Regions from separate parts of the Homo sapiens genome. Here regions 2, 3, 4 and 5 are each linked to region 1. The links are contacts of gene promoters, found by promoter capture Hi-C in blood cells and fetal thymus (Javierre and others, 2016). All regions are on one chromosome and are shown on one strand. The core of a region is centred on a gene start or on the middle of the fragment in contact, and the rest is flanking DNA. Distances in the headings are between cores, read along the strand shown.

Region 1 (6,078 bases), core at 2,164-4,663:
CTCTAGAACTTTTTCAACTTGGAAAACTGAAACTCTAAACAGCTCCTCATTTTTGTTTCTATGAATTTGACTACTTTAGATACCAAATATAATAAATTTCTATATATTTTTAACTCCATGATATATTTTATATATTCAAGTAACAAACTTTAAATTGCTTTAAAAAGTAAATGTTTGCTTAGATTTACATATATAGTAATGACTCTTCTTTTTCTCTCATACACTTTATCCATCAGAAAAGTCTAGTCACCTTTACTTACAAAACGTATCCAGAATCCTGCCACTTCACACCACCTCCACTGCTACCCACCATCATCTCTGTCTTTCTGCTTCCGTCCTTGCCTCCCTTAAGCCTCTTCTCCAGTGAGTGGCCAAAGAGATCTTGGTAGGTTGTAGGTCAGATTATGTCCTAGTTACTGCTGACCACATATCCTATGAGTCTCCTCTTGATCATCACTCCAACTTAGCCTCATTTCATTTTGAACAAGCTAGGCATGTTCCTACCTTGGGGCTTTTTAACTTGCTTTTCCCTTTCCAGGGAATGCTTTTCCCCCAGGTATTCTCAGAATTTATTTCCTCACCTCTGTCAGGTACTCAAATATCACCTTCTCAATGAGGATTTTCCTTAGATCCCATTGTTAAAATTGTACCACCCTCCTACAAACTTCCTAATTGTCTTACCTGCTTGATTTTTCTCCAGAACCTCATCAGAACCTAGTAGAATATATTTTACTTTACTTTATTATATGTATCTCCTGAATATAATGTAAGCTCTATGAGTGCAGGGATTTTTGTCTGTTTTGTTCACTGCTAAACAGTACCTAGCACATAGGGTATCCAGGTGCTCAATAAATATTTTTTGAATGAATGGCGACTTTTGGCAGATATTGTTCCCACCCATTTTTCATTTACTACATCCAACTAGATAAGCTGAAAAAGCTGAATCCTCCCTTTCTTAGCCATCCTTGAAGTTAGGCATGGCTATGTGACATAGCTCTGGATAATGAAACATAAGGGAAATCTGATGGATAGCTTTTGGGAAGGCTTTTTGCTGTCTTGATAAAAGAGATGGTGCTACCATTTTCCCTTTATGCTGCCTTGAATATTGCTTAAGAAATGTTGCCTGAAGTTGCTCTGATAATTTCAAGCCACTAAACTAACACCTGTATCTGCTTACTTCTGGACTGCATGGTATGAGAAAAATATACTTTTATTTGAGCCATTATAATTTGGGCCTCCTATTACTTAAGACATTTATAACTGATACACTCACCTACTGTTTGATACGGCTTAAAGAGACCCACATCCAGCGGGAAACCACTTACCTGAAAATGGACTTAGGACCACGGAATTCAAAGAAACCAGTGGAATTAGGCCTTAGTCTTTAGAGGGCAGAAGTCTTCAGAAGAAGCTGGTCAGTCTTCTCCTTAGGTCTCTGAAGTTCCAAACAGAATTCCACCACTCCTTATGATATCACTGATTACATTTAACCCTCCCCCAGTCTCCTTATTTGACAGCTAAGCACACAGACATCATTTTCTCTCTATGTATAAACATCTGTGTTGATACCAAAACCCATCCTTGCAGTAGTTCTATCCTCTTAGGCTTGAATAATTCTAAGATATTTTATTCACCACATGGTATCTAACTATGCATTATAATAACATATATATGTGGCATTTCATATCAGGGAAAAAGACCTTATTTAATATGATGTTGGGTGTGAGCCCTTTGCCATGCTATGCAAAATAGAAATTCTAGATGGATCCAGGACTAAACAAAAAATAAAATTATATACAAAATATGACATTTTCTGTCATACTTTTATGATAGAAAATTCTATGTGTGGATATTTTTATAATCTTGGTGCAGAAAAAGCTACTCTAAGCATGTCATAAAACCCAAAGCCATAAATGAAAATGCTGATAAATTTATAACATAAAAATGTAAAGCTTTCATATAGCAAAACATTGTTTAAAAAAGATAAAAGGTTAATGACAAATTAAGTAATTTCACAGCATATACGACAGACATTCAATTAAGATTGTTAACGTACAAAGAACTCTTACAAACTAATTAAAAAGAAATAGTACTGGCTAGGCACAGTGGCAGACGCCTGTCATCCCAGCACTTTGGGAGGCTGAGACAGGAGGATAGCTTGAGCCCAGGAGTTCGAGACCAGCCTGAGCAACATAGCGAGATCCTGTCTCTACAAAAAATTTAAAAATTAGCTGGGTGTGGTGGTGCATGCCTGTAGTCCCAGCTACTCGGGAGGCTGAGGCAGTAGCCTGGCTTGAGCCTGGGAGATTGAGGCTGCAGTGAGCTATGATCATGCCACTGCACTCCAGCCTGGGGGACATGAGGGGCTTAAAACCTAGATGATGGGTTGATGGGTGCACCCAACCACCGTGGCACATGTATACCTACGTAACAAACATGCATGTTCTGCACATGTATCCCAGAACTTAAAGTAAAAAAAAAAAATGCAAATCAAGTCGAGGCAACATAGCAGGATACTGTCTCTACAAAAAATAAAATATTAAAAAAATTAAAAAAATAATACTTATCCATAGAAGAACTGGCAAAAATGGTATCTCAGTTAGGTTCTATCAGAAAACAGAGCTACCAGGAAATACATAAAATGAAAGTTTTTGTAGAGTCCTCCAGTCTCCCCCAGTTTCTTGCTGTGTCATGCTAGAAAATCATGGAGTGGCTTGATCATTCTGTGACCCAGCCAACAGGCCTGAATGAAAATTAGGACCTTGAACATTCCCAGGCGCTGATAAAGGTGTATCTAGGTTGTGACCCGAAACACTGGAGGAAGCTGGCCCTGGCCCTTGAGCCAAATTCCTCTAAACCCTCATATGAGCTCCATACCCTGACCTTTCTGTGGAAGGAAAGGTGAGGTGAAGTGGAGAAAGCAAGTATACACTGGAAGCCTGAAAAGAGAAGAGCCCATGAAATGGACTAAAACCTGCATCAGTCTCATGTTATCTCCAAGCTTCTAACTTCGATGGTGGAGTAACATGCATGAGAAGGTCAGGTGTTTTCTGAAAGAGCTAAACACACAACTTTTCTAGGATTTGGAGAAGCTAAAAGATCCAGCAGGAGCTGGAGGACCTGCAAACTTGGTCACTGTCCTGTGCCCACCAGGTAACCCCACAAAATAGTGACAATGTGAATAAGCTGAAAATGAGCATTGTATGCCTGTCTGACTTTTCCATTGTAAAAAGAATATGGCTGTCATATAAGTTAACTTTAGCTGAATGAAAAATGACCTCCAACTTAGCAACTGTGAAGAAAACATTTATTACCTTATAGTTTCTGTAGGTTAGTTTTGGAGTGGATGATGAGATTGGAGTCATGTATCTGCTGGGACTGCAGTCATCTGAAAGCTTGACTGTACTGGAGGATCTACTTCCAAGATGGTGCACTCACATGACTATTGCTAGGATGACCAAAAGTCCCAGCTTGCCTGGGACTCAGGATTGGCTTCATGGGAGTTTGATCTATGCAGGTCTACAGGGCCCCACACCCTGAGGGGCCCTATGTTTCGTTTGCTCTGATGTCACTGTCTCGAAATTCTTAATAATTTTATCTTTGATCTTGTGTTTTGTAAGGGAAGTTTAATGAGACCGCCTATTTCATCACACTCATTTTCTCCTCCCCACTGACTTTGCCAACATTCTTCTCCCTTTGAGTCTCACTGAACTCTGATGCATTGTGGGTCCACTAGAATGTTATGCTCATGGGCACTGTATACATTCTTTGCTATTCTATTTGCACATAGTGTTTACAATGCATTTTTGCATTGTTGTAAAACTGTAGTAAGAACACAACGTGGTATCTGCTCTCTTAACAAATTTTTAAGTGCCCAGTATGGTATCGTTAGCTATATGCACAATGTTGTACATTAGATCTGTAGAACTTAATTCATCTTGCATAACTGAAACTTTTTTTTTTTTGAGATGGAGTCTCACTCTGTTGCCCAGGCTGATGGAATGCAACGGCACGATCTTGGCTCACTGCAACCTCCACCCGCCTCCCGGGTTCAAGCGATTCTTGTGCCTCAACCTCCCAAGTAGCTGGGACTACAGGCATGTGCCACCATGCCCAACTAATTTTTATATTTTTATTAGCGACGGGATTTCGCCATGTTGGCTAGGCTGGTCTTGAACTCCCGACCTCAGGTGATCCGCCCGCCTTGGCCTCCCAAAGTGCCAGGATTACAGGCATGAGCCACTGTGCCCAGCAGCATAGCTGAAACTTTATGCCCATTGAACAGAAACTCCCATTTCTCTCTCAGTCTCTCTCTCTCCATATAAGCTGTTCTCCTGGATTGAGGCTCCATTTCTGATTTATTTTATTCAGACTCTCATGAATTATATCATTTTTACTCTGAGTTCAATTTAATCTGGTTTTCTAACTCACTAATTTGGTTTTCTAGAGTGTCCATCTTGCTATTCAGTGCCCCTATTTGTTTTAAAAATCAGTGTTCACATTTTTATTTCCAGTGTAAAAACACAATTCTCAAAGGCATTTGTTTGTATGTGTCAATGTTTTATTTAACTCATTACTGAAGAAACCAGCAGGAAAATAAAAGAGCTAGTTCCATGAACATTTGAGAAATAGAGATGTATATAGTCAATGGGAAAAGAATGCCAAAATAAGATTATCAAGTTAAACATAACAGGAAATAAAACCATATCACCTTTGGGGTTAACTCCTCTACCGGGCTATAAAACAAAACAACTTATTCATTTCTGTAAGTTAGCCTCTAAACTTTAAGAACTTCACAGGGCTATAAACCATTTGCACCTGCATCATTTGTGGATTGTGACTATACTGTGACAGCTATGTTATAGTTTCCAAAGAGGTCAGATAAGGGTCAAGCAGGATTATTAGAAAATACTCCAGCATAGAAAAAAGTAGCCATTCTTTTGCCTTTTCTCAGATTGGGATCCATTTTTCTTTCATATTAGGATCTCCTGTTTTCCATTTGCCCTGGGTTGCAATCTTTGGATGCTTCCTCCAACTGCTCTATAACTTATCCTTGTCTCCAGCCCCCTTTACTATCAGGAGATTCTGTGTAGTCATAGTGAAGGGGTCAGGCAGATGGAAGGAGCAGTAAACCCTTCACAATCTTATGGGGGTGGAGGGCAAGAAGGGGGATCCTATTGTGTGGTGATATGGCAGACTGGAGTGTTTTTTCTGTTTTCACCAGTCCAATTTTCTTCTGACCTCCTTGATATTTCAACTATGTAAGTAGGACTCTAGTTTTCAGTCACGGTATATAATTTCCCCTGTTACATTTTTGTTGTGTTATTTTCAGCAGGAAATTAGTAGAGGGAGAGAGTAAACTGAGTGCATTATTAGAATTACAAAGTTTGTATCTCCTATCTCAGATAACCATGGATTTTCCTCATATTTCCACAGAAATATTAAATGTATGTCCTTTAGAAGCCTAATGTCATCATCATTTTCTTTCTTGGCCATCACAAATTTCAAGAAGACATTGTTATTTTATTTCAAAGCTTTCAACAATTGCATCCTCCTGACTTATTTTTTTATTGGTCAGAATTAAGACCAAATGGCTTTATATCTATGGACACTCGTCAGAAAAATGCACATTTGCATTTATACAGAATGCCTTATATAATTTCAGGGGACTTAGGGATTCTTGAACCCCATCTATAATTCTCAGTTTAAGAATGCTAGTTTTGGAGATAAGAATGTGCCCCTCATAATGACTAAATAACATAATTATATCTATGTGTAAGGAAGCAGAAACAGACTTTACTGTAGTAGTTATTGTATTCTCTCCATTTTGCAGATTGTCCAAATGATTTGCCTTTTGACTCCAAGATTGTATTGATCTGATCCTGAAACATGCTTTGTTCCATGCTTGATCAGGATAATAAACAACTGAGAGTTTTATTTTAAACGTATGAGGCTTAACCTGAAATGTTAACATCATAAATATCTTTTTCAAAGTTTCATCACATAGTTTTTCTACAACAGAGGAAGTGGTGACTCTGAGAGGCCTAACTTTTCAGGGAAGAATGCTTTCATGCAGGT
Region 2 (6,078 bases), core at 1,064-3,563, 240 kb before region 1:
CATTTATTTGGCATTTTCTATTAAGGGAAAGATGTGCATACCCTTCCAGCTGTAGGGAAAAGAAAGAGAGATCAGACTGTTACTGTTGTCTATGTAGAAAAGGAAGACATAAGAAACTCCATTTTGACCTGTACCCTGAACGATTGTTTTGCCCCGAGATGCTGTTAATCTGTAACTTTGCCCCAACCTTGAGCTCACAGAAACATGTGTTGTATGGAATCAAGGTTTAAGGGATCTAGGGCTGTGCAGTATGTGCCTTGTTAACAAAATGTTTACAGGCAGTATGCTTCGTAAAAGTCATCACCATTCTCCATTCTCGATAAGCCAGGGGCACAATGCACTGCGGAAAGCCGCAGGGACCTCTGCCCTGGAAAGCCGGGTATTGTCCAAGGTTTCTCCCCATGTGATAGCCTGAGATATGGCCTCGTGGGGCGGGAAAGACCTGACCGTCCCCCAGCCCAACACCCGTGAAGGGTCTGTGCTGAGGAGGAAGGCCTCTTGCAGTTGAGATAAGAGGAAGGCCTCTGTCTCCTGCCTGCCCCTGGGAACTAAATGTCTCAGTATAAAACTCGATTGTACATTTGTTCTCTTCTGAGATAAGAGAAAACCCGCCCTATGGCGGGAGGCGAGACATGTTGGTGGCAGCAATGCTGCTCTGTTACTCTTTACTCCACTGAGATGTTTGGGTGGAGAAAAGCATAAATCTGGCCTATGTGCACATCCAGGCATAGTACCTTCCCTTGAACTTATTTGTGACACAGATTCCTTTGCTCACATGTTTTCTTGTTGACCTTCTCCACACTATCACCCTGTTCTCCTGCCACATTCCCCTTACTGAGATAGTAAAAATAGTAATCAATAAATACTGAGGGAACTCAGAGACCGGTGCCAGTGCGGGTCCTCCGTATGCTGAGCACCAGTCTCCTGGGCCCACTGTTCTTTCTCTATACTTTGTCTCTGTGTCTTATTTCTTTTCTCAGTCTCTCGTCCCACCTGACGAGAAATACCCACAGGTGTGGATGGGGCTGGCCCTCTTCATTTGGCGCCCAACGTGGGGCCTTTCTCTAGGGTGAAGGTGCGCTAAGACCGTGAGCATTGAGGACAGTCGATGAGAGATTCCCGAGTACGTCCACGGTGAGCCTTGCGGTAAGCTTGTGCACACGGAGGAACCCAGGGTAACAATGGGACAAACTGAAAGTAAATATGCCTCTTATCTCAGCTTTATTAAAATTCTTTTAAGAAGAAGGGGAGTTAGAGCTTCTACAGAAAATCTAATTATGCTATTTCAAACAATAGAACAATTCTGCCCATAGTTTCCAGAACAGGGAACTTTAGATCTAAAAGACTGGGAAAAAATTGGCAAAGAATTAAAACAAGCAAGTAGGGAAGGCAAAATCATCCCGCTTACAGTATGCAATGATTGGGCCATTATTAAAGCAGCTTTAGAACCGTTTCAAACAGAAGAAGATAGCGTTTTGGTTTCTGATGCCCCTGAAAGCTGTGTAATAGATTGTGAAGAAGAGGCGGGGACAGAGTTCAAGAAAGGAACGGAAAGTTCACATTGTGAAAATGTAGCAGAGTCTGTAATGGCTCGGTCAACACAAAGTGTTGACTACAATCAATTACAGGAGGTAATATATCCTGAATCACCAAAACTGGGGGAAGGAGGTCCAGAACCATCGGGGCCGTCAGGGCTAAAACCACGATGGCCACCTCCTCCTCAGTCGAGTGAGTGCTGGGGGAGGGAGCCTGAAACCAGGCTGGCTGCAACTCGGCTCGCGGTGCCCATTATTGCCCAACCGGCAGTTCACTGCGGTGAAGGAGCAATTCAGACTCGCCCTGTAGCATCCTGTCTGGGTCAAACAGTGGCCGCTCCCTAAGGAAAAGTTAGGGGCGCTACATAAAATAGTTAAAAAAACTATTTAAAAAAGGACATGTTTCACCCACTGTCTCTCCTTAGAATTCGCCAGTGTTTGTAATTCAGAAAAAATCCGGCAGATGGCGCATGCTAACCGACTTAAGAGCCGCTAATGCCGTAATTCAACCCATGGGGGCTCTCCAACGCAGGCTGCCCTCTCCGGCCGTGATCCCCAAAGGTTGGCCTTTAATTATAATTGTTCTGAAGGATTGCTTTTTTTTTTTTTTTTTTTACCATTCCTCTGGCAAAACAGGATTTTGAAAAATTTGCTTTTGCTATACCAGCCATAAATAATAAAGAACCAGCCACCAGGTTTCAGTGGAAAGTGTTGCCTCAGGGAATGCTTAATAGTCCAACTATTTGTCAGACTTTTGTAGCTCAAGCTCTTCAACCAGTTAGAGACATGTTTTCAGACTGTTATATCATTCATTATGTTGATGATATTTTGTGTGCTGCAGAAATGAGAGACAAATTAATTGACTGTTACACATTTCTGCAGACAGAGGTTGCCAACGCAGGACTGACAATAGCATCTGATAAAATTCAAACAACAGCTCCTTTTCATTATTTAGAAATGCAGGTAGAGGAAAGGAAGGTTAATCCTCAAAAGATAGATAGAAATGAGAAAAGACACATTAAAATATGAAATGACTTTCAAAAATTGCTGGGAGATATTAATTGGATTCGGCCAACCCTAGGCATCCCTACTTATGCCATGTCAAATTTGTTCTCTATCTTAAGAGGGGATCCAGAATCAAATAGTAAAAGAACATTAACTCCAGAGGCAACTAAAGAAATACATGAAAAGAAATACAAAAGCAAATAAGCACATGAAAAGATGCTCAGCTTCACTAATTTTTAAATAATTTTCATTTCCTTCTTTAGCTTTTTATTTTCTTCTTCTTGAGGCAGAGTCTCGCTCTGTCACCCAGGCCAGAGTGCACTGGTGCAACCTTGGCTCACTGCAACCTCCGCCTCCTAGGTTCAAATGATTCTCCCGTCTCAGCCTCTTGAGTAGCTGGGATTACAGGTGTGCACCACCACTCCCGGCTAAGTTTTTTATTTTTAGTGGAGACGGGGTTTCATCATGTTGGCCAGGCTGGTCTCAGACTCTTGACGTCAAATGATCCACCCACCTTGGTCTCCTAAAATGCTGGAATTACAGGCGTGAGCCACCCTGCCCGGCCTCCTTCTTTAGTTTTTAAAGAAAAATTAAAACAATGATTTTTTTTTCCATCTGATTGGCAAAAATTTAAATAATTCCCATCAGTTCAGCAAGGATGTGAGGCTAGCGACACTGTCATAGGCTGTTGATGACGGTGTATATTGGAGGGCAAGTTGGCAGCAATGTAAGACAAGGGTAGAGAAGGGAGGGTCCAGATGGCCGGGGAATCTCCTCTGGCCAGAGCAGAAAGTACTGGAGGAAGAGAAAGGACAGGCAGGTATGCTGAGCACCTTGTCCTGTGTTTTAATTGAGGAGTTTCCTGGGGTCTCACCCTGTACGCTGCAGAGAGCAAGTCAGGACTGTGGAACAGCCTGAGCTGCAGGGAACCTGAAGGAAGCTTTGGTAAAACTTGATGATATGGTTTGGCTGTGTCCCCACCCACATCTGATCTTGAAGTGTGGCTCCCATAATTCCCACGTGCCATGGGAGGGACCTGGTGGGAGGTAACTGAATCATGGGGGCGGATGTTTCCCATGCTGTTCTCGTGATAGTGAATAAGTCTCATGAGATCTGACGGTTTCATGAAGGGGAGTTCCCCTGCACATGCTCTCTTGACTGCCACCACGTAAGATGTGCCTTTGTGCATCCTTTGCCTTCCACCATGATTGTGAGACCTCCCAGCCATGTGGCACTGTGAGTCCATTAAATCTCCTTCCTTTGTAAATTACCCAGTCTTGGGTATGTCTTCATTAGCAGCATGAGAACAGACTAATACACTTGGCCTTTCTCCCAAACCCACGCTCAGTGTCTGTCCTGTTTGGAAAGCCTTTCCTGGAGATACACGCTCAGATCCGAAGGACACCATCCTTCCACCCCACAGCCGCATTAGCACATTGGCTTTCATATGTGTTCATTCAACCACCATTTATTCAGCATCTATGAAGCAGCAGACACTGGGGCCAGGCTCTAGAGATGTGCCCAATTGCAGAAACTCCTGGGGACACTAGGGACCCAGCTGCCGCCACTCAACACATGCTCATCCCAGACTGGAGAGCTCATGGGCTAGAGAGAAACATGGAAAGAGTCAGCAGAATAAAGGTGCTACATGTTTGCTGGTCAATCCTGAGGAAGTCGTTTCCTTACCCTTAGGTTGGCTTTCCATGCCATGTCCCTTTCTTCTTGTGTCTCCTTTTGGTGGCCTGGCATGAGGGGGTGGTGTAATTGAGCTAGCTTTCACCACTGAGACAACACCACAGGGGAAGGGCAAGAAGGCAGCCAGACAGACCAAGGTCTCCACAGAGGTACTGCATCTGGAGATCATTGTCATATACATGAGCCGGTGCTTTGCTCGAACTGGCTAACATCCATATTCCCATCATCCTCTCCTATCTATCTGTCTCATCGGCCGACACTGCAATGTAGACCACATCCAGAAGGCCCTTCTGGCTCCTTCTTAGTGGATATGGGAGACTCAGAGACAGAGTCCTGATGATGTTTTAGAGCAGGAGGGTTTTCAAGTTACTCCACACCTCGACTGTCACCTGGGGATAGAGTTTGGATATTTGTCCCCTCCACATCTCATGTTGAAATGTGATCCCCAGTGTTGGAGGTGGGGCCTGGTGGGAGGTGTTTGGGTCATGGAAGCAGATCCCTCAAGAATGGCTTGGGCCATCCTCTTGGTGATGAGCGAGCTCTCGCTCTGAGTTCACACGAGATCTGGTCATTTAATAGCATGTGGCAACTCCCCACCCCCTTGCTCCTGCCCTGGCCATGTGATGGTCCAACTCCACCTTTGCCCTCTGCCATGATTGGAAGCTTCCTGAGGCCTCACCAGAAACAGATGCTGCTGTGCTTCTTGTACAGCCTGCAGAACCGTGAGCCCATTCAACCTCTTTTCTTATCAATGACCCGGCCTCAGGCATTTCTTTATAGCAGTGCAAGAATGGCCTAATACACCTGTAAATTTGGGAGCTGCTTGCGGTCATCCTGGGAAAAGGTGCAGAAGACATTTGTCTTCAGAGAAAAGGAAGAAAGGAGCAGATCCACAGGGCTGAAAGACACAGGGAGGGAGGAAGTCCTGATGGTGTCTGAGTCTCTGGTTTCAGTTTGTTCCTGAGGCCCAGCTGCAGTCCTGTCCTGGGCTTCTGAGAGACAACCACCCTGCATCCCATAAACCTGGTATTCACTTTAGAAGGTCCCATGCTTTCCTGACCTTGGTGGAGTTGCTTTCTGCTTCTTTTGACCCACAGAATCCCAGCTGCCACATCTGCTTGATCACTGCTACAGTTTGGATGTTTTGTGCCCTCCAAACCTCATGTTGAAATTGATCTCCAATGTCGGAGGTGGGGCCTGGTGGGAGGTGTTTGCTCATGGGGGTGGATCCCTCATGAAGGGCTTGGGGTTGTCCTCATGGTGGCAAGTGAGCTCTCCCTCTCTTAGTTCCCAGAATATCTGGTTCCTAAAAAGAGCCTGGCACCTCCTTCTCTCTCTCTTGCTTCCTTTCTTGTCCTGTGACCTCTGCACATGCCACCTCCCCTTCACTTTCCACAATGAGTGGAAGCAGCCCGAGGCCCTCCCCAGAAGCAGAGCAGATGCCACCACCATGCTTTCTGTATAGTCTGCAGAAGCCTGAGCCAAATAAACCTCTTTCCTTTATCCATGACCCAGCCTCGGGTATTCCTTTGGAGCAACACAGATGGACTAAGACACTCATCCTTACAGAAGAAGGTCTCTGTCTTCCAATATTGGGAGTTAAGGAGGCTCCATCAGACACTCTGTGTTCCAATCTTTCGGGCAGGATGAAGAGAGAGGGAAAAAGTCTAGACTCTCTGTGGTTCTACTTTGCCAGCTAAGAGATCTGGTAAAATGTGAAGAGCCCAAGACAATGGCGGCAGAGAGGTGGTATGGTGCCCCCTGACCTGGCACATTCCCCCTCAGAAAGCGAGATCATGACAGTGGCCAGCCCTTTCCATGGTGCTGCCACATGTAACCAGTA
Region 3 (6,078 bases), core at 2,680-5,179, 180 kb before region 1:
CGGGCCTGGCTCCTGGGTTCGGCAGTATCAGTCCCTGCCCTGGTCGCTCTTGCCTGGTAGGGAGCTGGGAGGTGACCCTGTGTCTGCTGGGTGCTGGCTTACTTCTGTGTCTGGAAGGGGGTCAGATCCACAGGAAAGGTGCTGCGAGAGGCGGGCAGGGGTGGGGGTGGCATGGCCCTAGGAGCTGGGTGTCTGTCCCCACGCCCTGTTCACAAGTCTGTGGGGCGAGAGGCTGCAATACTCCATCCCGGGTGTCTGGGCTGCTCACCAGGCCGGCTCAGGCTTCCCACATCCTGTACCCTGGGTTGGGCATGAAACCGATCCAATCGTCCCATAGGCTGTTCTTTTTGATACACATAGAAACTGACCCTTCTGGTCTTCAAGCTTGAACCTTACAGTTGTTTTATCTGAATTCCTTCCTCAGGAAATGACCTTCGGGCCTCTCAAAATATCAAAGAACTGAAACTCACCAGATAACCACATCCAGACAATGAGATGCTGGACCCCCCAAATTCATCAGGATTGCTTTCTGGGCCCTCCCGAGTTCCTGTTTTCCTACACATTGGTGCATTTCTTCCTGGCTATATAAACCCCTAGTTTTAGTCAGGGGGATGGATTTGAGACTTAACTCCCATCTCCCCGGCTGCAGCACCCAATTAAAGCCGTCTTCCCTGGTAATGCTCTTCGTCTCAGTCAGTCATTGGCTTTCTGTGCGGCCAGCAGCAGGACGTAGACCAAACCCTTGGTATTTCGGTAACAGGCACACCCCCAGGAAGGGACCCCGGACACGGCTACCACCTCTAGGCTTAAAGCGAATGCACTTCCCGCATCTCCAGTCTTCCGTGTAGCAGCTTTAACCTATGTATGTCTGTGCCACATCCAGTCCTCAGACGGCTGAGTGACCCCAAGAAAGGCTTCCCCGACACCCAGACAGAGGCTGCAGGGCTGGGGCTGGGTGAGGGTGGCGGGCCTGCGGGGACATTCTACTGTGCTAAAAAGCCACTGCAGACATAGCAATAAAAACATGTCATTTTCCAAAGCAGGCTCCTGCTTCTGCCTCTGCTGCTCTAAGAAGGGGTCAGGGTGCAGGAGGCAGGGGGAACCTCCTCCAGCTGGAGCTGCTGCGGTGAGCAAGGCTCTGCTCTGGAGGCCTCTGAGGCTGGCACCCTTCTGGGGACTGGGAAGGGGGCAGGGAAGGCAGCAGCCCAGGGAAAGCCTCGTCCCCCTGGAGCCGAGGCAGTTGGGGAGAGCAGGACGAGAGTGAGCTGGAGAGCAGCCACACCGATGGGTAAGGGTGGGTGAAGGGATTCCACAGGTGTCTAGAAAACTGGAAAGAGCTCCTTAGCAGGTCCAGGCCCCAGGTGTAGGGGAGGACCAGATGTGGAGGATGAAGACGGTTGTCCAGAGGGATCTCCAGGCGTTGGCATTATTGGGTCCTACTGAGATGCTGTCAAGGAGAAAACACAGGCTGTGTGTGGCAGGGCGACAAATGAGTGCTGCTGCCAAGCTCTGTCCTGTTTTCTGTGCACGTCTCAGAGCCCCTCCAGTGACCGTCATCTCCGGCCTCCTCCTGCGCCTCTGTGTTCGTAGACATCTTCTCACATCTCAGATCCTGCTGAGCCTCTGGGCCCCCTGCACGTGCCTTCTGCCTCTCGGCTGCTGGGGTGGGGACCTCTGTGCCCTGTGCCAGCGCCTCTCCTGCAGCTCACAACACATCTGCTTTTTCTCCTGCGCCCTGCACAGGGTGGGCCTGGAAGCTCTGGGGAAGTTGTACCCTTGGACACAGCCCCCCACCGATGGGGCCAAGAGTCACTGGATAAAAGTCTTAGTCTCTCACCCTTTGAAGGACAACTCTGAGGTGCGGCTGACTGTGGAGCGAATGAAATGAAACGGATGCACGGGGATGGGTGTGGACAAAGGAATGCCGACTTCTCAGGCTGCCGATACATATCTCAGTAGAAGCACGGGGGAATGCTATATAGAGAAATATTTCTATAGTATCTGAAGTGTTTAGAATGTATTGACCTAATATATACACAATAAAAGTAAAAACATTGGAAGAAAATTTAGATGAACTTTATTTGATTGTTGGAATGGAAAAGACTTTTCTCTCTTTCTTTCTTTCTTTCTCTCCTTTTCTTTCTTTCTTTCTTTTCTTTCCTTTTTTTCATTATTATACCTTAAGTGCTGGGGTACATGTGCACAACGTGCAGGTTTGTTACATAGGTATACATGTGCCATGCTGGTTTGCTGCACCCATCAACTTGTTGACCTAGCAATCCCATTACTGGGTATATACCCAAAGGATTGTAAATCATTCTACTATAAAGACACATGCACATGTATGTTTATTGCAGCACTCTTCACAATAGCAAAGACTTGGAACCAACCCAAATGCCCATCAATGTTAGACTGGATTTTAAAACTGTGGCACATATACACCATGAAATATATGCAGCCATGAAAGAGAATGAGTTCATGTCGTTTGCAGAGACATGGATGAAGCTGGAAACCATCATTTTCAGCAAATTAACACAGGAACAGAAAACCAAACACCGCATGTTCTCACTCGTAAGTGGGAGTTGAACAATGTGGACACAGGGAGGGGAACATCACACACCGGGGCCTGTTGGGGGTGGGGGGCTGGGGGAGGGATAGCATTGGAAAAGACTTTTCTAAGCCTACTAGCAATGAGAATAATAATAACCAATAACATTTGTTGGGTGGTCACCATGTCCCAAGCCACTGTTGTAAGCACTAGACAAGAATTGGCTCATTTATCCAGAAATACACCACATTTTCATTGTCGTTATCCTTGGCGGTGAGATAACGGTTGGTTTTTTATTTTCTCTTCCGAACTTGCCCATATTTCCTCTTCTTTTGCAGTGAACATGTATTACATTTATAAGCAGAAAGCGATTAAGAAAGTTATTCATTACTTGCTGTTGAGGAAAATTTCTAATTAGCTCTGGAGTGAGCCAGTTTGCCAAAGTTTAAATTAGCCTGTTCAATTCATTGGAGGCCATATTTTTCCTCTGAAACTTGTTCTAATTGGCACCTTTTCTTGATGTAATGAGGCGGACGGTGCCGTGATGAAGTCTCTGAAGTCACCGAGCCTCGGGGCCCACGCTAGACACCACGGGGCAGATGTCGCCCGGCTCTCCTGGTCATCTCTGTGGCTTTCAGCCGCTTCCAAAAAACAATTGTTTCCAAATTCCACACACACAGTTCATCCTACCTTGAAAGTTATTCCTCCAGAGGGCTGTTGATAGTTTGCTTCATCAGCATTTTGTCACTATTACACACTGAGATTTTTTTTTTCTTCTGCACCTTGGAGGTACTCATGAAGAACACATGTGTGCTTAAACACAAAACCTACCGAGGCCCATAACAGCCCCTCCCCTCCAGAGGGCCGGTCCTGGTCCACACACGCTGGCAGACAGTCTTTGTGTTTCCGAATCAGAGAAGACTTGCTTGGAATGGATGAAATGTATTTGAAATCACATTAGGCATCATCTGGAATGGTGAAGCTTCAGAGGTGACAGGGCCAGGATGTCTATATTCAAAGAGGGCCATTGAATTAAAGTTAAGCAGGGATCTCTTTGCTTGAATTCCAGAGTTTCAAACCAGCACAGTCATGTGAGCTTGGATGGCCTGTAGGTACTTCCAACCCAACCTGCCCCCAGCTGACCTCACTGCCTGTCCCCCGACTCCCGGAATGGCTTCCCTCTGCTTCATTCTCTGTCTTGGCGACACGCGTTTCCATGGTCCCGCACTCTGTCATCTCACCTTCCGTCCAGTCAGTTTCCTTCAATGTGTCCTCTCCACCCTCCCTAGGCCAGGTCGGCATCATCTCTCACCTATATGATGAGAACAATCTCCCCCGGTCTACACAGATTCCCGGCCCCTTTCCTAGGAATTTGGCCTGAGTGGGGCGGTCTAAGTGGGGATGATGTAGGCTGGCCTCATATGGCCCAGGGGGAGGGCCCAGCCATACCTACCAGGGCTGATGAGCACGGCTTGTTTCGCCCTGTGGGGGTCATTGCAGGCTCTTGTGCGGGACTCGGGATGGGGGTCTGTTGGGAAGCCCCGGATGGCCTAGTGTCCTGGCCTTGAGCCTTTGGTCTTCTCTGAGCGCCCACCCGCCATCACTTGAGAACAGTGAAAGGCAGCTGTGTTGACCCTTTGAGCAGCATGTGGCCGTTCCTAGGTTTGGTGGTAGGGGTGAGTGACCCTTTCCTGTGAAGGAATGGCGAGTAACCATTGTATGACAGTGAATTGTCTTAGTGCCTAATAGCCCAGCCTACTTTGTGAGCTCCATAAAGGCAGGAAGCTTGTCTGGAGCTTTTCTGTATCCCCAGTGCCAAACCCCATAATGGGGAGACACGAGGTACTCTCTCATTCTTTCTTTCAAGAAATATTTCCTGGCCGGTGCGGTGGCTCATGCCTGTCATCCCAGCATGCTGGGGAAGATGGGGTTTAGCATGTGAGTGAGGACCACACATAGCACAGAGAGCACCCAGTCGCCCAAGCCAGAGTATGCAGAGTTGGGAAGGATGTAGCAGGGGACTGAAGTGACGTAGAAAAGACCGATCATAGTGAGATGGGCAACACAGGTAGAAAAGGCTTTTCTTCAGCCCTGGGTGGAATGAATCCTGAACAGCAGCCACAACGTGTCCATAGGAGACCACGACCAGGACGCAGTGTGCAAGAGCCACCAGAAAACTGAAGAACAGGGCAAGTTCATTGGTACGTGTGCTGAAGCAAGAGAGTCTGAGCAGTGACGGAGGTCGCAGAAGAAGTGGGTGATGAGGCAAGGCCTGCAGAACTTGGGTAGAGCTGTGAGGATGCTGTAGGTGAATGCGTTGGCCAAGGCCAGCAGGCAGGAGATGGAAGTGAGGCCCGTGTGGGTCAGTCGGCCCACGAGGACAAAGTAGTGCAATGGCTGGCAGATAGCTGCATAGAATCATAGGCCACGGCTGTGAGGAGGAAGGACTCCTAGGGTGCCAGGAAGTGGAGAAAGCATATCTGGATGAGACAAGCACAATAAAGTACGGGCCCTACCTGAGCCAGCAAATGCACCAGCACCTGAGTCACCATGTTGGAGATACAGGCGGCATCCATCAGCGAGTGGCCGCCCAAGAAGAAGTACATGGGAGTGTGGCGTCGGTAGTCCACTGTGAACATGTGGCTCCCAACCACAACCACTATGTAGATTAGCAGAAAGGTGGTGAACAGCAGGGGCCTCCAAGCCTTGCTGTCCCTCAGGCCTTTCAGAAGAAACTGGGACACTAGGGTCCCATTCCGCAGCTGCTTGGAACCACGCACAGAACCCTGCACCTGTAGTATGCAACTCAGAGTCAGATGAGGGTCTAGGTGTGGAGTCCCAACTTACAAGGGGGGGAGGGGATGAGGGATGGACTAATGACTAGGTAGGCAGGTTTCAGATTTAATGGAGGAAGACTTGTTGGTTCAATACAATGAGGAGCCTCAAATGGCCAGGCAAATCTTTCATCTCCTGTTGAACAGAACCTTTTTTGGGAGAAAGTGATGGGGATCAGCCTTTAGGGTATCCATAGATGGCTTTGCTGGCAAAACTGTGGCAGGTGGGAGGGCAGATACATATACAGAAAATGTCTCTATTCCTGGGACAAAAATCCTCCTGCTCCCTGAATGAGAGAATGGGTCCAATATAATCCACTTTCCACCAGGCAGCTGGCTGCTCCCCTTGAGGTGACAACCTAATAAGCGTTGCTTTACGTTGGGTACACGGCAGAAGTACCCAGATCAGCCTCGGTGTGGTGAAGACCATGTTGTGTCATCCTTCCCGTAGCTGTGTCTCCAGTCTCCCTGTTTGCAGAGTCAGCCCAAGCTGTGTGGAAGCCTGCGGCCACCAGCTCGTGCATACCTACCTATCTATGTGTCCAAAACTAGGTCTGTCAGCTCAAAGACATCAGGACAAAAGACACCAACCTGTCTTGTCTGTGAGGAAGGTGTTGGGGGAGGAAGAGGGTGCCTGGTGTCTGGAGTGGCTTGTGGCTTGAGGGAGCATCTCACCGAGCAAGGTCCCCACAGAGA
Region 4 (6,078 bases), core at 1,801-4,300, 150 kb before region 1:
AGGCAACTGCTTCCTTCTTTTCTTCCTTCAATGTATAAACAGGTCTTCTTTCCTAAAGGTTCTGGCCAAGACCTTGAAAACTACACATTCTCTCTTGGTTTTGACCTGTGTTGACCATCAGTGTGTTTTTAGTGGACAAAAAAAAAAAAAAAAGAAAAAACTCAAACTGAGCCCCAAGCTTCCCTGTTTCACACATGGCACAAGCCCGCACCTCTCATACTTTGGATTGCCTTTCATCCGTCCACTCCTGTTTTGTGCTCTGGAGAGCCTGTGTCTTCTGCTCATCCACTTGGACATAGTCTACTCTTTGTTCTTCTGAAAGGAGAAGTTTCTGAAGGAGGAGAACAAAAAGGTTTTCATTACATCTAACTTAAAATGTCAGGAAAATGTTTACCCTTTTGTATTAAATTGTTAAATATTTGTTGCCCTTTCCTCTGTGTGGAAACTTTGTACTTTGTATGTGTGCTTGTGTGTGTGCACGCACGTGCTTCTGCTTCCCTCAACTTTGCTCTAGCCACTTGACTTGCTTTGATCAATATAATGTAAGTGGAAGTGACATGGCCTGGCATGGCGGCACGTGCCTGTAATCCCAGCACTTTGAGAGGCTGGGATGTGGTTTGGCTGTGCCCCCACTCAAATCTCATCTTGAATTGTAGTTCCCATAATCCCCATGTGCCCTGGGAAGGACCTGGTGGGAGGTAATTGAATCAAGGGGATAGTTACCCTCATGCTGTTCTCATGATAGTAAGTTCTCAAGAGATCTGATAGTTTTATAAGGGGCTTTCCCCATTTCATTCTGCACTTCTCTTTCCTGCCACCATGTGAAAAAGGATGTGTTTCCTTCCCCTTCCACCATGATTGTAAGTTTCTTGAGGCTTCCCCAGCCACGCTGAATTGTGAGTCAATTAAACCTCTTTCCTTTATAAATTACCCAGTCTCAGGTATTTCTTCATAGCAGTGTGAGAATGGACTAATACAGAGGCCAAGGCAGGAGGATCACTTGAGCCCAGGAGATCAAGATCATTTTTTATTAAAAAATAAAAAACAGCCGTGGGTGATGATGTGCAACTGTAGTACCAGCTACTTGGGAGGCTGAGATGGGAGGATAACTTTAGCCCAGGAGATCGAGGCTGCAGTGAGCTATGACCATGCCACTGCACTCCAGCCTGAGTGACAGAGTGAGATCTTGACTCAAGAAAACAAAACAATAATAACAAAAAGGAAGTGACATGTTCCAATCCTAAGGAGAAAGAGGTATTCTGTGATTCTGCAATCTCTCTTTTTCCTCTGCCAGGAGGCCAGCACACTTCAGATGGGGGCTGCTTCTCTTGCCTCGGCCCTGGACTGGAGATGACCTGGAACACAAAGGCTCTGGCCTGCAATAAAAGAGCCTTTGTGTTGAAAGCAGATGAGATTTGGGGGTTGTTTGTCTACCAAAACTGACTAATGCTCCTTTTATACTTATTGCTCCCACCCTTCTTACCAGCTTTTCTCCAGTCTCATATCAGGTTTTTGGAACGATATTAAAAGTAGAAAACAAGTAGGAGTTACCTCAGCAAAAGAGGAGGAAAGTCCTCAGTTGTTTCCCATGCACTCATTCCTTACGCTGTACAGTGGGTGATACTAGTTCACAGATATGATAACTTACATGTATTAACTCAATTAATCCTCACAACAGCCCTTGACATAAGTGTTGTCATTTCTGATTCCCATTTTTCAGATGAGAATTCTACCCAAAGGGGTAGCTGCCCAACTCAGCATTCAAGGCCCCTTACTTCCAACTTACAGTTCTTTCCACTGCTCCCTCAAGTCTAACCAAACTAGACTATTACTTGTTCCCTAAACAGGATGTTCCTACACCTGGAGGGTCCTCTACCCGACCCTCATTTCTGCCTGAGATATTTTTCTATAAACTTTTTGGTCCAAATTTTGAAGTGTGAATATCACATCTATTTATACATACACACACAAAGAACACACCCTAGAAGGAAATACACCAAGATTTCATTCTCTCTGGGAGGCAGGATGAGGGCCGATTTTAATATTCTTCATTATACATGTCTGCATTTTTAACACTTTCTAAGGAGAATATGCATGGTTTGATAATCAGAAAAGTCTAGGCAGAGATGGAATCACCTGGGAATTCTTAGACACAAAGCCCTTCCTACCTGCTGCATGGGGGCTGGTGATGCTGAATTGAAGTCCAGGGCCAAATAATCTAGGCTGAATTTCTTTGTCCACGTAAGGGCACCACTGCTCAGGGAACTGGCTGTTCGGTGCTCCTCCTAGGAACCAACATCACAGGAGTCAGGTTAATGATGTCTATCTTGGTTGCTCAAGGGAAGGAGGGCAAGTTGTGGCTTCACCCAAGCAGCTGCCATCAGATCGTAACAGAATAGTCTGATGAGACCTGAGTCAATCAGCCTGCATATCTGAGTGAGAACTGTAATTTCAAACAGAATATAGCCAATTTGGCCTTCGCAATGAAACCATACCATTATTCACCATGGGAACAGTTTGCCAAAATTCACTCAAAAAGGAATTTGCTTCACGAATCTGACAGGCCTGTGATACTTCAGAGATTAAACCCTAACAAGATCAACTATACTTATTAAAGTTCTCGTGAAGGCATCCCAAATGCACTTAAATATAGTTTGCACAATACAAACAGTTATAACACAGATGAAAATCAGGGCCCAGCTTCAGAAGTGCAATGCTACCAATCCATATCTTTGAAGCTGTTTCCCCTGTACCATCTTTCCTTCTCCTCCCAAGAGGTAAAGCACTATCTTGAATTTTGTGCTTACCACTCCTTTTACTTTTAAATATAGTTTTATGAGTATGCAAGTATCCTTAAATAACAGACTATTTCATTTTGCCTGTTTTTGAATGTCATATCAACAGAATCACATTGTATGCATTTTGGGCGGCTTCAGTTTTGTGTTCAATATTAGGTACTCCACATTCACTTGTGTCGAAGCATTAGCCCTATTTCACTCATTTGCAGTGGGTCAGATATTCCATTGCATGACTTATTTAATCATTCTGCCATCAAAGGATATTTGAGTTGCTCCCAGTTTGGGGGCTATTGTAAGCAATGCTGCCATGGGCATTCATGCACCTGTGGGAGAAATTCTAGGGCATTTACTTGGGAATAGAATCACTGGGTTATAGGATATGAGTATCTTCAACTTTACTAAATATCACCAAACTATTTTCCAGAGTGAACCAATCTACACGTGTACCAGGAGTGTATAAGAATTTCTATTGCTTCCCATCCTGGCCAACACTTGGTATTGTCAGAGTTTTTAACATTTTTCCTACCTGAGACAGGTAAAATGGTATCTTACTGTGGTTTGATTTTCCATTCCCCTGATTATTAATTAGTATGAGCACCTGTTCATATGTTGAAAGGTCATTTGTTTATTTCTCCTCTGTGAATTGCCTGTTTGGGTTTGTTTTGTTTTTTGGGTTTTTTTTTTTGCCTTGTTTCTGGTTAATTTTTGTATTGAATTATTTGTATATTTTTCTTACTTACCCTTAGTACTTTTTCCTCTGCCCTGGAGAGTAATCATTTGCTATCATGTATGTTGCAGATAGCTCATCACAGTCTAGCTTCTTGTCTTTTCATTTCTTTTTATGGTATTTCTTTTGACTAAGAAATACTTTTAATGTAATGTCGATCTTTTCCTGTATGGCTTACATTATGTTTAAGGAATCCTTCCCTATGCTGAGGTCATAATTTATTTCTCTATATTTTTCCTGAAATTATAATGTTTTGCAATAATTTGCTTCACGTTTAAGCAATAATCTCACTTGAATGGATTTTAATATTGTATATGGTGGTGCAATAGAAATAAAATTCATTCCATTTTTGTTGTTGTTTTTACTCAACATGGATAACCTGGTTTCCCCCAGAATGTCTTGCGTGATCTTGACCCTTTTAGAATCAGCTTCAAAGTTCCTCAAAAATCTCTGTTAGGGAATTGGTTAGATAATGTCTTTAATATTTGAGTCTTCCTATTCAGGAACATGGTCTACTTTTCCACTTATTTCATTCTCCTTAATGTCTTTCAATAAGTTTTAATAATTTTCTCCACAATATTTTTTGTTAGGTTTATCGCTAAATGCCTAGAGTTTGTTGTTACTGTAAATGGTAAGTTTTGTTTAAATTCTTTTTTCTGTTTGTTACCATTATCTAGACAGTGAACTGGATTGTGTATATTGATTTTATATCCATCAATCTTGATATCTTTTATTAATTGTAATTATTTATTTTACTAACTTAGTAATTCTAATTATTTCTAAGTAGATTATTTCGAGTTATCATTCATATAAGCAGATTATTTTGAGTTATCGCTTCATCTAAGAATAATCACTCTTTGTCTTCTTCCTTCCTTTCCAATTCTTATTCATTTTGTTTCTTTAGGAGATGTTTTTAGCTTTTAACCACTGAGTATGATATCTACTACAGGTTCTATAAGATTCATTTTTCATTTGTTATGAGGTTAGAGAAAATTCCTCTATTCCTTGTTTACTAATAGATTTTTTCATGAATAGATGTTGAGTTCTATCAAATGCTTTTTCTGCATCTAGTAAGATAATATATCATTTTTCTCCTTTAATCTGTTAATGTGCTTGGTTGACTTAATAGATATTCCTGGTTTATGGTTGTAATAGCTCATCTCTCTGAGAATATTGGTAATAATAGAGTTTTAAAAAGGCTTTTCCTAGCTGGGCGCAGTGGCTCACACCTTTAATCCCAGCACTTTGGGAGGCCGAGGCGAGCGGATCACTTGGGGTCAGGAGTTCAAGACCAGCCTGGCCAACATGGTGAAACTCTGTCTCTACTAAAAATACAAAAATCTGCCAGGCATGGTGGCGCATGCCTGTAGTCCCAGCTACTTCGGAGGCTGAGGCAGGAGAATTGCTTGAACCCGGGAGGCAGAGGTTGCAGTGAGCTGAGATTGCACCACTGCACTCCAGCCTGGGTGAAAGAGTGAGACTCCGCCTCACAAAAAAATAAAATAATAAATAAATAAAAAGACTTTTCCTTCTGGCATAGTTCTTATTTCCTCCAATCTGTTTTGATTTCAATCTTTCATGCTAGAGTTCTCCTGAAATGTCACATGAAATCACTGACTGTTGCTTATACTTACGAGCGAAAGACCAAAAAGCTAACGTGGAGCTTTGTGTACATGGATGGTGTTTGTCAGCTCTGGAGTTTTCTGCAGGGTGATCCCATTGGGTGGTTATCTTGAGTAACCCCCAATATTAGGAACTACGTTTTGCCACTTGGGCTGCTCAAATAGCCCAGAGAAATATTTTCTAATCTCCAAACTCAATTGTAATGGTCTGGTTGTCAACATTCTGGAAAAGGGCTTGAGAATGGTTCTCATATCCATTATGCCTATTTACTTAATCACCTTGTCGTTAGTATAGTATTCGTGGTCAAATATGTCTAGTATCCCCCAGTGCAGAGACCTTTTGTTTTACTCTCTCCAGAGAGACTGAACTTCAACTTTTCTATGAGATGGGGGATGGAAAGTCACAGTGTTTCACCTCCATGGAGTGAGGGAAGGGATCTTGGAATTTACCTGATGCCTTTGACCATTACTGCTTCTTTTACTTTCCCTTCAACCCTACTTCAGAACTACCTACTGTGGACAATTCCTGAACTCTTTGGGTAGTCTGCAGTATAAGTCAAGTTGCTTCTTGCCTTCCTTCCACCACATTTAAGATTTAATTTTTTTGTGGGGGGGAGGGGTCTTGTAAGTCATTTACTACATATCTACCTGCATTCTAGTTTCCAATATGTTACTGCTATTTTCTTCTCCAATTCTTCATATCTTTGTGGGTTTATGCCTTTAACAGATTTCTTTACTGTTATTTTAGAGGGTGTTTGGGGATGGAGAGAAATTGGAAGCTTGCGGTCAATCTTCCATTTGAGGTTCATGTGTCAGCACTTTATTTCTTTTTGTGGCTGCATAATACAATGGAATATTATACTACATTTTATTATATATTATACTACATTTTATTCACACATTCATCAGTCGATGATCATTTGAGTTGTTT
Region 5 (6,078 bases), core at 1,231-3,730, 140 kb before region 1:
AAGAGGCACAAAATGCCCAACAGTTTCTGCTCCACTTTGGGGCAAATGGCTCCCAATTCACAAAGGCTGCTTTTTCTCAGGCCCTCTATGTGACACAGCTCATGAGCTTTCTAAACGGACGAGGGCATCATATCATTTAGCAAAAAAAAAAAAAAAAAAAAAAAATACTCCTTTGGGGCCTTCTTGTTTCTATTCAATGTAAGGAAAAGTGAGGAAGTATGGCCATTCCTCTGATAGGACACAAGACTGCCAATCAACTCCCATCCTTCTCCTGAGTCAGAAGCATGAGCTGAGTCACAGTCTTGGCTGGAAATACAGCTCATTGCAGAATTCTGCTTTACAATGCAATTGTGTTTTGTGGCATTTAGAGTGAACCGAGAAACTCCTGAGCCAAGCTCAGGACTAAAAATGCAACTTCTAAAAGGTGAGATGAAAGGGTGCAATTACATTTTGAAGTCTGTCTACCCAGCCCGTGAACCTGGGAACTCCCTTGTCCTACCCCATTCACAAAGTTGGGCTTGGGCCATAGCCAGTTCCACTGAGACTGGGGAACACAATTCTCTCTCCCCAGGAAATCTGAATTGGCACTGAAAAAGAGCCCATCTGTTGGTACTGGAGTTGTAGCATGCAAACAAGTTCAGGGGGTATGGTACAGCTATCTTTGACCATGAGGATTGTGCAATAGAAAAGAATACTGCAAAGACAAAGGAATGCACAGATGTGAAGAGTGAAGCAGAAGTGAGTAGATTCCTTGGGTTCCCAACAGCACACTAGTTCCTGATTCCAGGATCCTGGGAGACCCAGACATATTCCTTCCTTTGTGATCCATAAAACAGCTCTTGCTCTCGATAATAAACCTCACCCCTCCTTTGGCTTAAGCTAGATCAGATGGGCTTCAACTACATTTAATCAGAGGCCTAACACACACCGGGGTGTCTGTGCTGGATGAGGCTCTTTTGAGCAATCAGTCTTACCAAGGCACAGTGCGGGTCCTGGTAAGAGATGCATGTTCCCGGATGATCGAGAGGTTTCTCAGGTCCAGAGGAGGTGGCCGTGCTACAAGACAGTGTGCAACATCCAGGAGGTCAAGGCCAGAGTCTAAAGACTGTAAAACTATGACATTTCACTTTCCCAGCACACCAAATCCACATTTACTAACAGGCAGCACTGATGATGAGGGTGAATTTCACTGTCCTCCTCTTCCCTGCCTCACTGGGAGTAAAGACAAATACTGAGCAAATGGTCACATTACCTGCTGGAGGTAACAACGTGGCAAGGCATTATTAAGAAGTCTCTGTATATCACGCGTGCTTCTAGGTGTCGAAGGCACAGGATGAATAAAGCAGATGAAAGTCTCTGACCTTGTGGAATTGCAACATCTATTACCTCACACCCGATGTGTCTGAAGTGGAAATGTTACCTTTCTTATCACAGGCAGAGATGATCACCCAGGTCCTAGTCTTCCCCACCTACAATCCATTGTCCACCTGATGATCCTTCTGCCTAGAACATTCTATCCCATCTCTTTGCCTCTAGACAAGATCAGGCCCCACAGCCTGGGCTCTCAAGTTCTTGTACTTACCCTTCACAGCACAGCCCCAGTTTGTGATAATACACTCATCTATGATTTATCTGGACCTAAACTGTGCTCCAGGAGAATAGGGGTGTATCTGGTTTGTTCACTGCAGTAGTCTCAGCACCTAGAAAAGCACTTGGTATCTGCCCCAACCCTTATTCCACCTCAGTGGCCCATCTTCTTGAGTTAGTCCTGGCTCAGGTATCCACCTTTGCATCCACTCATTAAATCTCCAACCCTGAGTCTGTCAGACATCTTCTGTTGCCTATCACAAGGTCCTGCAGAGCTGCACTGTCCATTGTCGTGACAACTAGCCACACGTGCCCATTTAGACATATATGTACATTTATTAAAATTAAATACAATTTAAAATGTAGTTCCTCAGTCACATTAGCCAAATTTCAAGGGTTCAATAGCCATTATCTCCAACATCACAGAAAGTTCTGTTGTTGTTTAATTGTTTCTGACCAGAATTAATGGCTATTTCCTCTGAACCTCATAAGACAGGGTCTGTTCTCCTATTTAGCACTGATTTCATAATTCTATTTCATGGTCCAGGTGGATTTTACATATCTTCCTCCCCCTCAGACTGAAGAACCCTCCTTGCTCCCTCATCTTTGTATCCCACCCAGTGCCCACCACAGCAATACATATGCAGCGCATGCATTGTAAATGTATAAATGTATTTTGACTGAAATTTAAGGGAATATGCCTGGAGTAGACCAGGCATGAGTAGGGGTCTTAGTTGGCAGCTTTGGGCACAGCCACCTGAAGTGACTTTTTTTGCTTTCTAAAGGGCAAAGAGAAGTTGGAATGCACGAGAGATCAGTCATTCTACCAATGCTTCCTTGTAATCACACAGCCAACTGGGAAGGGGAGGATGAGCAAGAATGAAGTTAAAAAGTCACTCTGACCTGCTCTTCCTCTTTCCCTCTTTTCCTATCTATCTCTCTGTCTGTCTGTGCTGCTTAGCAAACCAGAGAAGCTGCCTGGGAGTAAGACAGAAGCTGCAAGGCACCCCGTGCACAGAGGAGTCAGCCTGCTCATTGCCAAAATCCTCTTCTATCCCTGAATACCTCTGCTGACGGGCATGCACAGAACGATGAGTGATAAACTGCATGTGACTGGGTCTGACCTTCAGGAATTGGTGTCAAAGGCTATTCCTGACTGCCTTACAGAGGCTGGCACTATGATTACATTCAAGTGCTGTCTAATGAGGAGATGCCAGGTGGGATTCCATTCTAATCCACCATCACTTATTCCTGGGCCTTTGTTAGGGAAACAGCCAAAGACGAGCCCTCTGGAATGAACTTGGCTTTGTCAGCTGTATTTGCAAGGCCACAGTGCCTGTAAGTCTCCTGACTCCTATTATCATGACAATCTGGGGCAGCAAGGTGCCCCAGCCCTTCCTATTCCAACCCAGCCACTTCTTTCCTGACCTTACACTTTCCGGCCCTCTGGGGTGGTTTCTCTAGGTCTTCCTTTACAGAAACCTTTTCTATGCAACCACCGGAACCTTGCTCCCCTACCCCTGTACAGCAGGCCTGGTCAAGTGCTTACATTTCCTCTGAGGCTTGAGATCTCTATTCACTGGGGGAGGTTCCAGGTTTGCAGGCAGCTCAGGCAACGGGCTTGAGATGCTTCCTGAGTTCATTGGAATGTAGTCATCAGGGCTGCAGTGGGGTCCAAGACCAGAGGCACCAGCCTGGGGGCTCATGGGCACATAGCTGTCTTCGATACTGGCTGAAGCTGTGGGGTACATCGGGGAGAACCTGCATGGCTGCAAAAGAATAGATACAGATTGGGAACCACAGACCAGTCATGGAAACTGCTATCAGAGGGCGGCCAAAGCTGTACATATGGTTTCAGTTCCAAATTATCCAAGTATAACTCTGAACTTCCTCAGCAAAGTCAGACAAGCCTCTAGCTCAAGTTCTGCCTCTGGACTTATCGTTTTAGTATAGGCGATAAGTCTCCAAGATCTGACACTGGAAGACAGAGGGTTATGAGTTTATGCAAATGCTTTAAGCATAAAGTGATGCCTTAAGTAGCTATACCAAGTTGAGCAAGTGTCTGAACCATTAGAACCAATAAGGCCCTTATAGAACACCAAGTCCTGTAGTTCCCAAGCAAGTTCAAGTCTTCAGGGGAGACTGGAAGATTCCTCAGAGACTCAGAGTGCTGAATCTTAAAGATTTCAAGGGAATATACATAGATCAAGCTGTTTTTGGTAAAATTGATGCTTAAAAGAACCTGAATGTTGAACTTACCAAATTCAAACTAAGCCGCTTGTCTCGGTGTCTTAAGGATTGGCCTTCTACATCAGCTGCAAGAAATAAGCCAAGGTGGTGAGAAATGCAGAACAATATCAACTGAAACTAGAGTCCAGAGAGGCAGAGAAGCATAACACAACAGTTGCTATTAGAGTCTAGCTGGGCAGTCAGAACACATTTCCCCAACAGATGAAAAATCAGACCAGATTTTGAAGAAGTTTCTAGCCAATGGTTTGAGTTCTCTCTGTGAAATAGGAGGAGACATAGCAAGTAATTAACAAATTCTTATTGCATTTATTACATAAATCTTCTGAACTGGAGGCAGAACTGGAGGTTTGAGGAGAGGAGAGAGGTTTGAAATATTCCTTGTAACGAGCAGGAGAACAGGGTGAACAGAGAAACGATTGCCTTGTGGAGCAGCATTAAGGGCCCAATTGAGGTCTGTGACCAGAAAAGCTACTCAGGTAGACGCATGGAGAGAAAGGACATTTGGAGTTATCCAGGATTAGAAACTCATCAGATGGATGCAAGAAACAGTGTGATATTAAAATTTAGAATAATTTAGACCATAAGAGTAGATGAAACTATCTAGGTTGCAAGTGTTGAGAAAAATACAAAACTCTAGAGAATCCTAAGACTCAAAGAACTAAGAGATAAGTCAGTGAAGTATCTTGAGAAAGAGCAACCATAGATTAATGAGGAAACTTGGGGGTATGGTGCCATGAAAGCCTCAGGAAGGAAAGAATGGCCAACAGTGTTGAGTGGTGCAGAGAAGTTCAGCAAGTGCTCCCAGCATGTGGTGGCCAGAGCAAAGTGGCCCTCAGCCCTCAGCCCTCAAGAGCTTGGAGGTGTGAAAAGTCAGGAGGCCTCTAAGAAATAAACTTAAAATTCGACAACATCTTAAAATGCAAGGACAACTCCCAGCTCGGAAAAGATGTGACAGAGACTGATGGAATTAAGCATATATATTATATATACATATATGTGTATGTATATATGTATATATCTATGCTTACATATGTTTAAAGATGTACAAGTACTGGTTAAAAACTACTCTGAAGTCAGACTGTCTAGTTATAAATCCCTACACCACCATGTATTAGCTGTATGGCACTAGACAAGTTACTTACCCTCTCTATGTCTCAGTTTCCTATTTGTAAAGTGAAGCCAATAATATAACCTATTTCATAGGACTTCTGGAAAGGACATAGAACACTGCCTAGAACACAGAAAGTACTTAATAATTCTTAGAAACTATTATGGAATAATTTCTCATTGTGGGACTTGCATGTGTGAGCACAAGCCCTTAACTCCCTTTCCACTACCAGACCCTTTTAAAGCCATCAAATAACATAAATATAGAGAAAACTCTGAATCAAAGACATAGGTATAATCCATGTGCCAGATAATTTAAGAGATTTGTGACAGATAGAATGCAGATGGGATCAGAGTAAAGGAAGGCACTTTTTCTCTTATATGACAGCATTCATTGCAAGCTTCCTGAAATGCCCTTGGGCCTTAAGGGAACATGGGCAGACAGTACTCCCCATGGCCTGGGGTGGTGATAGCTATGGAGTGAGGCTCCTCTGCCTTATATTGGGAAAAACCTAAACACTACACAAGAAAACTATTAGAACTAATACACAAATTCAGTAAAGTTGCAGGCCACAAAATCAACATAGAAAAATCAGTAGCATTTCTATATGCCAACAGTGAACAATCTGTAAAAGAAATTAAAAAGTAATCCCATATACAATAGCCACACAAAAACTTAAATACCTAGGAATTAACTTAACCAAAGAAGTGAAAGACCTCTATAATGAAAACTATGAGACAATATTGAGGGAAATTGAAGAGTACACCAAAAAATAGAAAAATATTCCATGTTCATGTACTGGAAGAATCAACATTATTTAAATGTCCATACTACCCAAAGCAATCTACAGATTCAATGCAATCCCTACCAAAATACCTATTAAAGTCTTCACAGAAATAGAAAAAAAATCCTAAAATTTGTATGGAACCATGAAAGACCCAGAATAGCCAAAGCTATCCTAAGCAAAAAGAACAAAACTGGAAGAATCACATTACCTGACTTCAAATTATACTACAGAGCTATGGTAACCAAACAGCATGGTGCTGGCATAAAAACAGACACATAGACCAATGGAACAGAATAGGGAACTCAGAAACAAATCCACACACCTACAGTGAACTCATTTTTGACAA

The links. Contacts are between HindIII fragments. The CHiCAGO score rates a contact against its expected background, and 5 or more counts as called.
Region 2: a contact is called between a fragment that was not itself captured here and the fragment with the promoter of SMIM9 in region 1, in 15 of 17 cell types (activated CD4 T cells, total CD8 T cells, naive CD8 T cells and 12 more). The highest score is 13.4, in activated CD4 T cells.
Region 3: a fragment that was not itself captured here is called in contact with the fragment with the promoter of SMIM9 in region 1 in 2 of 17 cell types (activated CD4 T cells and M0 macrophages); the score reaches 5.1 in activated CD4 T cells.
Region 4: a contact is called between a fragment that was not itself captured here and the fragment with the promoter of SMIM9 in region 1, in 2 of 17 cell types (monocytes and activated CD4 T cells). The highest score is 5.6, in monocytes.
Region 5: a fragment that was not itself captured here is called in contact with the fragment with the promoter of SMIM9 in region 1 in 1 of 17 cell types (neutrophils); the score reaches 5.4 in neutrophils.

The regions. Positions count from the first base shown.
Region 1 is chrX:154,831,249-154,837,326 of GRCh38, forward strand. SMIM9 (small integral membrane protein 9) reads right to left here and starts at 3,414. Exons shown (of 5, transcript NM_001162936.4): 1 at 3,315-3,414; 2 at 1,326-1,435. F8 (coagulation factor VIII) reads right to left here. Exons shown (of 26, transcript NM_000132.4): 26 at 4,544-6,078. The HindIII fragment of the contact is 2,139 bases long and covers 3,394-5,532 here.
Region 2 is chrX:154,588,612-154,594,689 of GRCh38, forward strand. No RefSeq gene overlaps it. Among named protein-coding and RNA genes, the nearest start is that of CTAG1A, 6.5 kb to the left of the region's middle. The HindIII fragment of the contact is 2,329 bases long and covers 1,150-3,478 here.
Region 3 is chrX:154,654,331-154,660,408 of GRCh38, forward strand. LOC105373387 (a long non-coding RNA gene) reads left to right here. Exons shown (of 2, transcript XR_938543.3): 1 at 1-674; 2 at 761-1,039. It also overlaps the pseudogene OR3B1P. Among named protein-coding and RNA genes, the nearest start is that of CTAG2, 3.8 kb to the left of the region's middle. The HindIII fragment of the contact is 803 bases long and covers 3,529-4,331 here.
Region 4 is chrX:154,677,964-154,684,041 of GRCh38, forward strand. It overlaps GAB3 (GRB2 associated binding protein 3), which reads right to left. Exons shown (of 10, transcript NM_001081573.3): 9 at 2,169-2,285; 10 at 1-331. The coding sequence ends at 215. Among named protein-coding and RNA genes, the nearest start is that of CTAG2, 27 kb to the left of the region's middle. The HindIII fragment of the contact is 5,748 bases long and covers 177-5,924 here.
Region 5 is chrX:154,696,158-154,702,235 of GRCh38, forward strand. It overlaps GAB3 (GRB2 associated binding protein 3), which reads right to left. Exons shown (of 10, transcript NM_001081573.3): 5 at 3,847-3,902; 6 at 3,137-3,356; 7 at 975-1,056. Among named protein-coding and RNA genes, the nearest start is that of CTAG2, 46 kb to the left of the region's middle. The HindIII fragment of the contact is 5,725 bases long and covers 1-5,343 here.